Regions from separate parts of the Homo sapiens genome. Here region 1 is linked to region 2. The links are contacts of gene promoters, found by promoter capture Hi-C in blood cells and fetal thymus (Javierre and others, 2016). All regions are on one chromosome and are shown on one strand. The core of a region is centred on a gene start or on the middle of the fragment in contact, and the rest is flanking DNA. Distances in the headings are between cores, read along the strand shown.

Evidence for each region. The method cuts DNA at HindIII sites, captures the fragments that hold promoters and counts their contacts. A CHiCAGO score of 5 or more calls a contact.
Region 1: a fragment that was not itself captured here is called in contact with the fragment with the promoter of ALG14 in region 2 in 3 of 17 cell types (activated CD4 T cells, naive CD8 T cells and total CD8 T cells); the score reaches 8.6 in activated CD4 T cells.

Annotation. Positions count from the first base shown.
Region 1 is chr1:93,909,536-93,913,017 of GRCh38, forward strand. It overlaps LOC124904221 (a long non-coding RNA gene), which reads left to right and starts at 57. Exons shown (of 2, transcript XR_007066230.1): 1 at 57-619. RefSeq lists a silencer at 1-218 and an enhancer at 259-418. The HindIII fragment of the contact is 2,924 bases long and covers 634-3,482 here.
Region 2 is chr1:95,071,494-95,074,853 of GRCh38, forward strand. It overlaps ALG14 (ALG14 UDP-N-acetylglucosaminyltransferase subunit), which reads right to left and starts at 1,458. Exons shown (of 4, transcript NM_144988.4): 1 at 1,270-1,458. The coding sequence starts at 1,405. RefSeq lists enhancers at 900-979, 1,220-1,579. The HindIII fragment of the contact is 2,572 bases long and covers 1-1,796 here.

The DNA of each region.
Region 1 (3,482 bases), core at 846-3,345, 1.2 Mb before region 2:
GGGCTGCGGGACGCCGGCCCGCAAGTGACTGGCCCTTGGCCTGCGGCGGGCGTGGCGACGGGTGGTGCGCGGCGGGCGCGCGGGTCGAGAGAGCGTGGCGGCGCGGCCCGGAGCGCAGCGCGCGGCAGGGCTCCCCCTGGCGGTCAGAGGACAGCGCGAGGCAGACACCGCCTCCGCCTGGTGAGGTAGACACCGCCTCCGCCTGGTGAGGTCTCCCGGCGTTCAGGTCGCGGCTCCGCCCACGGCCGCCCCAGGGTGGGCTTCCTACACGTCTCTTTAAAGGGCAGCCTGAGCGGCCACCGGGACTCGGAAATGCTACGTAGTTTTCGTTCTCAGAAGCAGCTGTTTATGCGCAAGCGCCCCCTTCTTCTTTTCGCTTTGCTACCTTCAAGGACCTTCTCCCAAACTGCTAATTTTTCTTCATCCGTTAAAGGTCTATTGATTCACATTATTTGCTGGCAGTGTGTGAAGTCAACGAACAAGACTGAGTCTTTGCCCTTGAGACGCGTACACTCTACCCAGAGACAAGTTCTAAGCACAGGAAACAAGTAATTTTATAAGAACATCATAGGGCAGTTATTCTCCAGATGAATTCAGATTAAAGAGGACACTTGAGCCGGTGAGATCACAGAAAGCTTTTATCACCCACCCCTTTAGAGGTGGTCGAGATTATTTACCCCTATTAAATTTCACGTGTGGTGGTGGACTCGGTATAAACATCAAATTGAACATGTATTGAGCTTTCCTCAACAATCTTTCACATTCGTTGAGGTGAATCAGATTATTAAAGGCAAAATGAGATTCTCATTATAAGCGGGGACAATATAGCTATTGAAAAGAGAGATGAACCAGTTGGTAAAATGGTAAGAATTAGGGGAGGGATGGGAAAAAAGATCTTTCTAGGAAGTTAGAAATTGAGCCTGATGTTGAGTAAATATTTGTTGGCTGAATGAATGATGGTAAGAGTTCATTGAACGAGCTTGCGCTGCTTTTTTTTTTTTTTTTTGGATATTGATTTTTTATTATAGTGAAAGAGCTACCCACAAGCACCACCACTACTTAAACACATTTTGATGCACTGTAACATACAATTAACATTTGTTGTAAATAATTCCAACATATACAAAAATAGCAAGAATACTATAATGAAACCCGATATAACTATCTTCTGAACTCAAGATTGAATAAGATTTGTCTATACTTTTTGTTTTATAATACTTTAAGTTCTAGGGTACATGTGCACAATGTGCAGGTTTGTTACATATGTATACAAGTGCCATGTTGGTTTGCTGCACCCATTAATTCGTTATTTACATTAGGTATTTCTCCTAATGCTATCCCTCCGCCAACCCCCCACCCCATGACAGGCCCCAGTGTGTGATGTTTCCCACCCTGTGTCCAAGTGTTCTCATGGTTCAATTCCCACCTATGAGTGAGAACATGCAGCGTTTGGTTTTCTGTCCTTGCGACAATTTGCTCAGAATGATGGTTTCCAGCTTCATCCATTCCCTACAAAGGACATGAACTCATCCTTTTTGATGGCTGCATAGTATTCCATGGTGTGTATGTGCCACATTTTCTTAATCCAGTCTATCATTGATGGACATTTGGGTTGGTTCCAAGTCTTTGCTATTGTGAATAGTGCCAAAATAAACATACCTGTGCATGTGTCTTTATAGTAGCATGATTTATAATCCTTTGGGTATATACCCAGTAATGAGATCGCTAGGTCAAATGGTATTTCTAGTTCTAGGCCCTTGAGGAGTCACCACACTGTCTTCCACAATGTTGAACTAGTTTACACTACCACTGACAGTGTAAAAGTGTTCCTAGTTCTCCACATCCTCTCCAGCACCTGTTGTTTCCTGACTTTTTAATGATTGCCATTCTAACTGGTGTGAGATGGTATCTCATTATGGTTTTGATTTGCATTTCTCTGATGACCAGTGATGATAAGCATTTTTTCATGTGTCTGTTGGCTGCATAAATGTCTTCTTTTGAAAAGTGTCTGTTCATATACTTTGCCCACTTTTTGATGGGGTTGTTTGATTTTTTCTTGTAAATTTAAGTTCTTTGTAGATTCTGGATATTAGCCCTTTGTCAGATGGGTAGATTGCAAAAATTTTCTCCCATTCTGTAGGTTGCCTGTTCACTCTGATGGTAGTTTCTTTTGCTGTGCAGAAGCTCTTTAGTTTAATTAGATCCCATTTGTCTATTTTGGCTTTTGTTGCCATTGCTTTTGGTGTTTTAGTCATGAAGTCCTTGCCCATGCCTATGTCCTGAGTGGTATTTCCTAGGTTTTCTTCTAGGGTTTTTATGGTTTTAGGTATAACATTTAAGTCTTTAATCCATCTTGAATTAATTTTTGTATAAGGTGTAAGGAAGGGATCCAGTTTCAGCTTTCTACATATGGCTAGCCAATTTCCCCAGCACCATTTATTAAATAGGGAATCCTTTCCCCATTTCTTGTTTTTGTCAGGTTTGTCAAAGATCAGATGGTTGTAGATGTGTGGTGTTATTTCTGAGGCCTCTATTCTGTTCCATTGGTCTGTATCTCTCTTTTGTACCATGCTGTTTTGGTTACTGTAGCCTTGTAGTATGGTTTGAAGTCAGGTAGCATGATGCCTCCAGCTTTGTTCTTTTTGCTTAGGATTGTCTTGGCAATGCAGGCTCTTTTTTGGTTCCATATGAACTTTAAAGTAGTTTTTTCCCATTCTGTGAAGAAAGTCATTGGTAGCTTGATGGGGATGGCATTGAATCTATAAATTACCTTGGGCAGTATGGCCATTTTCACACTATTGTTTCTTCCTATCCATGAGCATGGAATGTTCTTCCGTTTGTTTGTGTCCTCTTTTATTTTGTTGAGCAGTGGTTTGTAGTTCTCCTTGAAGAGGTCCGTCTCATCCCTTGTAAGATGGATTCCTAGGTATTTTATTCTTTTCAAAGCAATTGTGAATGGCAGTTCTCTCATGATTTGGCTCTCTGTTTGTCTGTTATTGGTGTAGAGGAATGCTTGTGATTTTTGCACATTGAATTTGTATCCTGAGACTTTGCTGAAGTTGCTTATCAGCTTAAGGAGATTTTGGGCTGAGATGATGGGGTTTTCTAAATATACAATCATGTCATCTGCAAACAGGGACAATTTGACTTCCTCTTTTCCTATCTGAATACCCTTTATTTCTTTCTCTTGCCTGATTGCCCTGGCCAGAACTTCCAACACTATGTGGAATAGGAGTGTTGAGAGAGGGCATCCCTGTCTTGTGCCAGTTTTCAAAGGGAATGCTTCCAGTTTTTGCCCATTCAGTATGATATTGGCTGTGGGTTTGTCATAAATAGCTCTTATTATTTTGAGATACATTCCACGAATACCGAGTTTATTGAGAGTTTTTAGCATGAAGGGCTGTTGAATTTTGTCAAAGGCCTTTTCTGCATCTATTGAGATAATCATGTGGTTTTTGTCTTTCGTTCTGTTTATGTGATGG
Region 2 (3,360 bases), core at 208-2,707:
GACTGCGCCACTGCCCTCCAGCCTGGGCAACAGCGTGAGACTCTGTATAAAAAAGAAAAAAAGCAAGATTTTAAATACTCTTTACAATCTGGACTCAGTTTACCTCCCTACATTGAACTCTACACGATAGTGTTCTCTCAACTCTGGTCATTCCAAGTGTTATCACCTTCTTTTCACATCCTCCCAGCCCTCGAAACCCTGGCTGTCCCTCATCTGACTAATTCTGGGTCATCTTTCAAGTTTCAGTTTAGCATCATTTCTTCCAGGAAGCTGTCTGTTTTTTAAGACCTGATAAAGTAGTGCCCTTCCTGAAGACTGCCATAGCAATTTGTACTTCTTACACAATTATTACAAGATTATAGCATTTATCTCATTGTGGCAAATACTCATTTTGATTTATTTTCTGTTAGTTTTTTTGTATTCTCTATTTCATTTACTGCTGTATCTTTGCATCTCTCACAGGACTTAGCACGGAGTCAGCACTCCGTGGCAAGTAATGTTAGTCAGTTTTGTTATTTCCAGAGGTTAGTTTAGTGTTTGGTCTTTCTAACAGCTCAAAACAGATTAAGTGAATAAAGTAATGCGTTATACTTGAACATAAACTTAGTACATTTACTCATACTATACATGTTCTATCTGGATGCAATCTCCTGCCATACCCAAATGTTTACATTGTGTCTGTGTGTGTCTGTCTGTCCCTGTCAAATATGTGTATTTAAAATTGTAAGCACCTACAGAGTTGGTGGATTTAGATTGTATTACCTGACAGGTCAGTGTGTTGCTCACACTCTGCCACCGCGTGTGTATTGTTCTACAGCCCGTAGATCATTGTTTTTATCCTCTTGGACTTTGTATATTTATAAATGTGACAATTCATTTTGCCTCATTTGTCATGTAGCATTCGTGTTTCCTAAACTAAATACGCAATACCTAGATTAATAATGCACAACAGCCATACGGGGAAACTGCATGTTTGCATCAAAAGGCTTCTACGTTCTCTGTTCACTAATTGTTTGAAAAATATACGCTACAGAGAGTCTTAATTATAGACAAGTGTAAATTACTTGTCATAAAAAAAACCTCTGGGCCGCGTCAGCAAACCAGCCCCTACCCTGGCTGGACTGCCCGGTTCCGGCAAGGCAGAGAAACTACAAATCTCTGCATGCAACACTCCAAGAAGTGCTAAGGGTACCAGGGAAGAGCGTCGCGGTGCACTCTGGGGTTTGTAGTGACCAACCCAAGTCCGACAGTCGCCTCCTCGATACTTACCGGACCCAGCCACTACCAAGATACTGAGAGACTCCCGGGGCGTAACGTCCATGGAACGAAGCACTACCCATATTCGCAGGATTAGGAAAACCGCCACAGCTCCTGCGGCCGCAGCTAGAACGAGAACGCACACCATGCAGAGAAACGGCGCATGCGTCCAACTTCCGGGGACCAGCCGCTGTCAAAGTTCACAACTACGGGTGCCGAAGCGACTCAAACGCGGAGGACGCACGTCTTGGTGGGCTGGTCTTTCCTGAGCTGGGAGGAGTGGAGGCGACGGAGAAGCTGAGGTCCCAGTCACAATCCATTTTACCTCATTTATCATGTAGTATTCGTGTTTCCTAAACTAAATACGCAATACCTAGATTAATAATGCACAACAGCCATACAGGGAAACTGCATATTAGCGTTAAAAGGTTTCTACGTTCTGTACGTTCACGTTTGTCAGCGGAACCCCTGCTTCTGCGCGGATTGTGCGCAGCTGCAGCCAAGCGTAAGCTGAAAATTGTAAAGTTAAGCGCTGGGGAAGCTTGATTTACGCCCACGACGAGGTCAGGCAGTCTCTGCGCCCTAAAGGTCCCGAAACTCCCCAGTTAGGAGGTGTTCTGGCTCTGTCAACTTCGTGAATGCCACCTGAAGCTAAGGGAATACATCCTTTCTTTCTTTCTTTTTTTTTTTTTAATGCCAAGAGAAATGTTTCTGTTGCACACAGACATTACTGAAAGTGTTCGCCAGTAAGGACCCTAGGCTTAAACATCGAATTTAGGGCCCTCATCCAAACCCCCTGTCTCCCAACATGTATGTTTTTAACTTTTCTCGAGGTTTTCACAGCTCTCAGTGTGACCAGAGTAGTTGAGGGTGACCACCTAAAGGTAAGCCACACTCCTAAGAGGATTGCAAAGCTCAGTGGCTCTAGGTAGCAGGATAGACAAGGCACAGTCCTACAATTAATATTCAGTTAATTTTATCACAAAGCATTTCCAGTGTGTTTCTCATGTCCTCAGCCAAAATGATGATCTGCCAACACCCCCTTCAATCTCAATTTTGCTTATGTCTAATTAATTAATTGTTAATAAATTAATTATGTCTAATTAATCCACATTACGACAACATAAAATACTAAGATCAGGAGCCCCTTCACCCCAAATATAATTTGCCTTCGGTCCACCATAGACCTACCTGTAGGTTATATTGAACAGGTATACAGATGAGTAAAAAGGTTCAGAAAGGTGCAACTGCTTGCCCAAGTGGAATAGCGTCAGATCTAGAATCAGAAACCAGAAATCTGAGTCCTGCTGGACAGGAGTACTGCATCCTGTATTCCTTTGCTAAATTCAAACTTGCCTGATCACCACACTTACCTGGAGCCTAGAATGTGTTATTAAAGGTGCAGACTCCCAGGGTCCATTAGGAAACACTGAATCAGAATTTCCGGGGATCGGGCACCTGGGATTAGCTTATGTAACCAGCGTGTCCATTCCTATCAGCAAGCAAGTTTGGGAGACTTTGTGAGTAGAGTCCGTGGACCTTACAACACTTTCCAAATTGTCTTCCATCAAATCTTCTTTCTTTTCTTTTCTTTTCTTTTTTTTTTTTTTTGAGACAGAGTCTCACTCTGTCGCTTGGCTGGAGTGCAGTGGCACAATCTTGGCTCACTGCAACCCCCACCTCCCAGGTTCAAGCGATTCTCCTGCCTCAGCCTCCCAAGTAGCTGGGACTACAGGCATGCACCACCATGCCTGGCTATTTTTTTTTTTTTTTTTTTTAGTAGAGACAGAGTTTCACCATGTTGGCCAGGCTGGTCTCGAACTCCTAACCTCAGGTGATCTGCCCGCCTCTACCTCCCAAAGTGCTGGGATTACAGGCATGAGCCACTGCGCCCGGCTCCATCAAATCTTCTTAACTATACATTCTCGCAGTAAGACCTTAAAGTGGATATTAGTTCCCTTTTTACAGACAAAGAAGTAGATTCCATAAAAGTTAAATAATTTGCCTAAGTCTACTTAGCTAGTAAGGGTGGAGAAAGTTCATAGTTGTGGACTTAGAAGTCAGTGTCTCTCAAATTTTAATGGAATCAGAATTCTCTGGGCT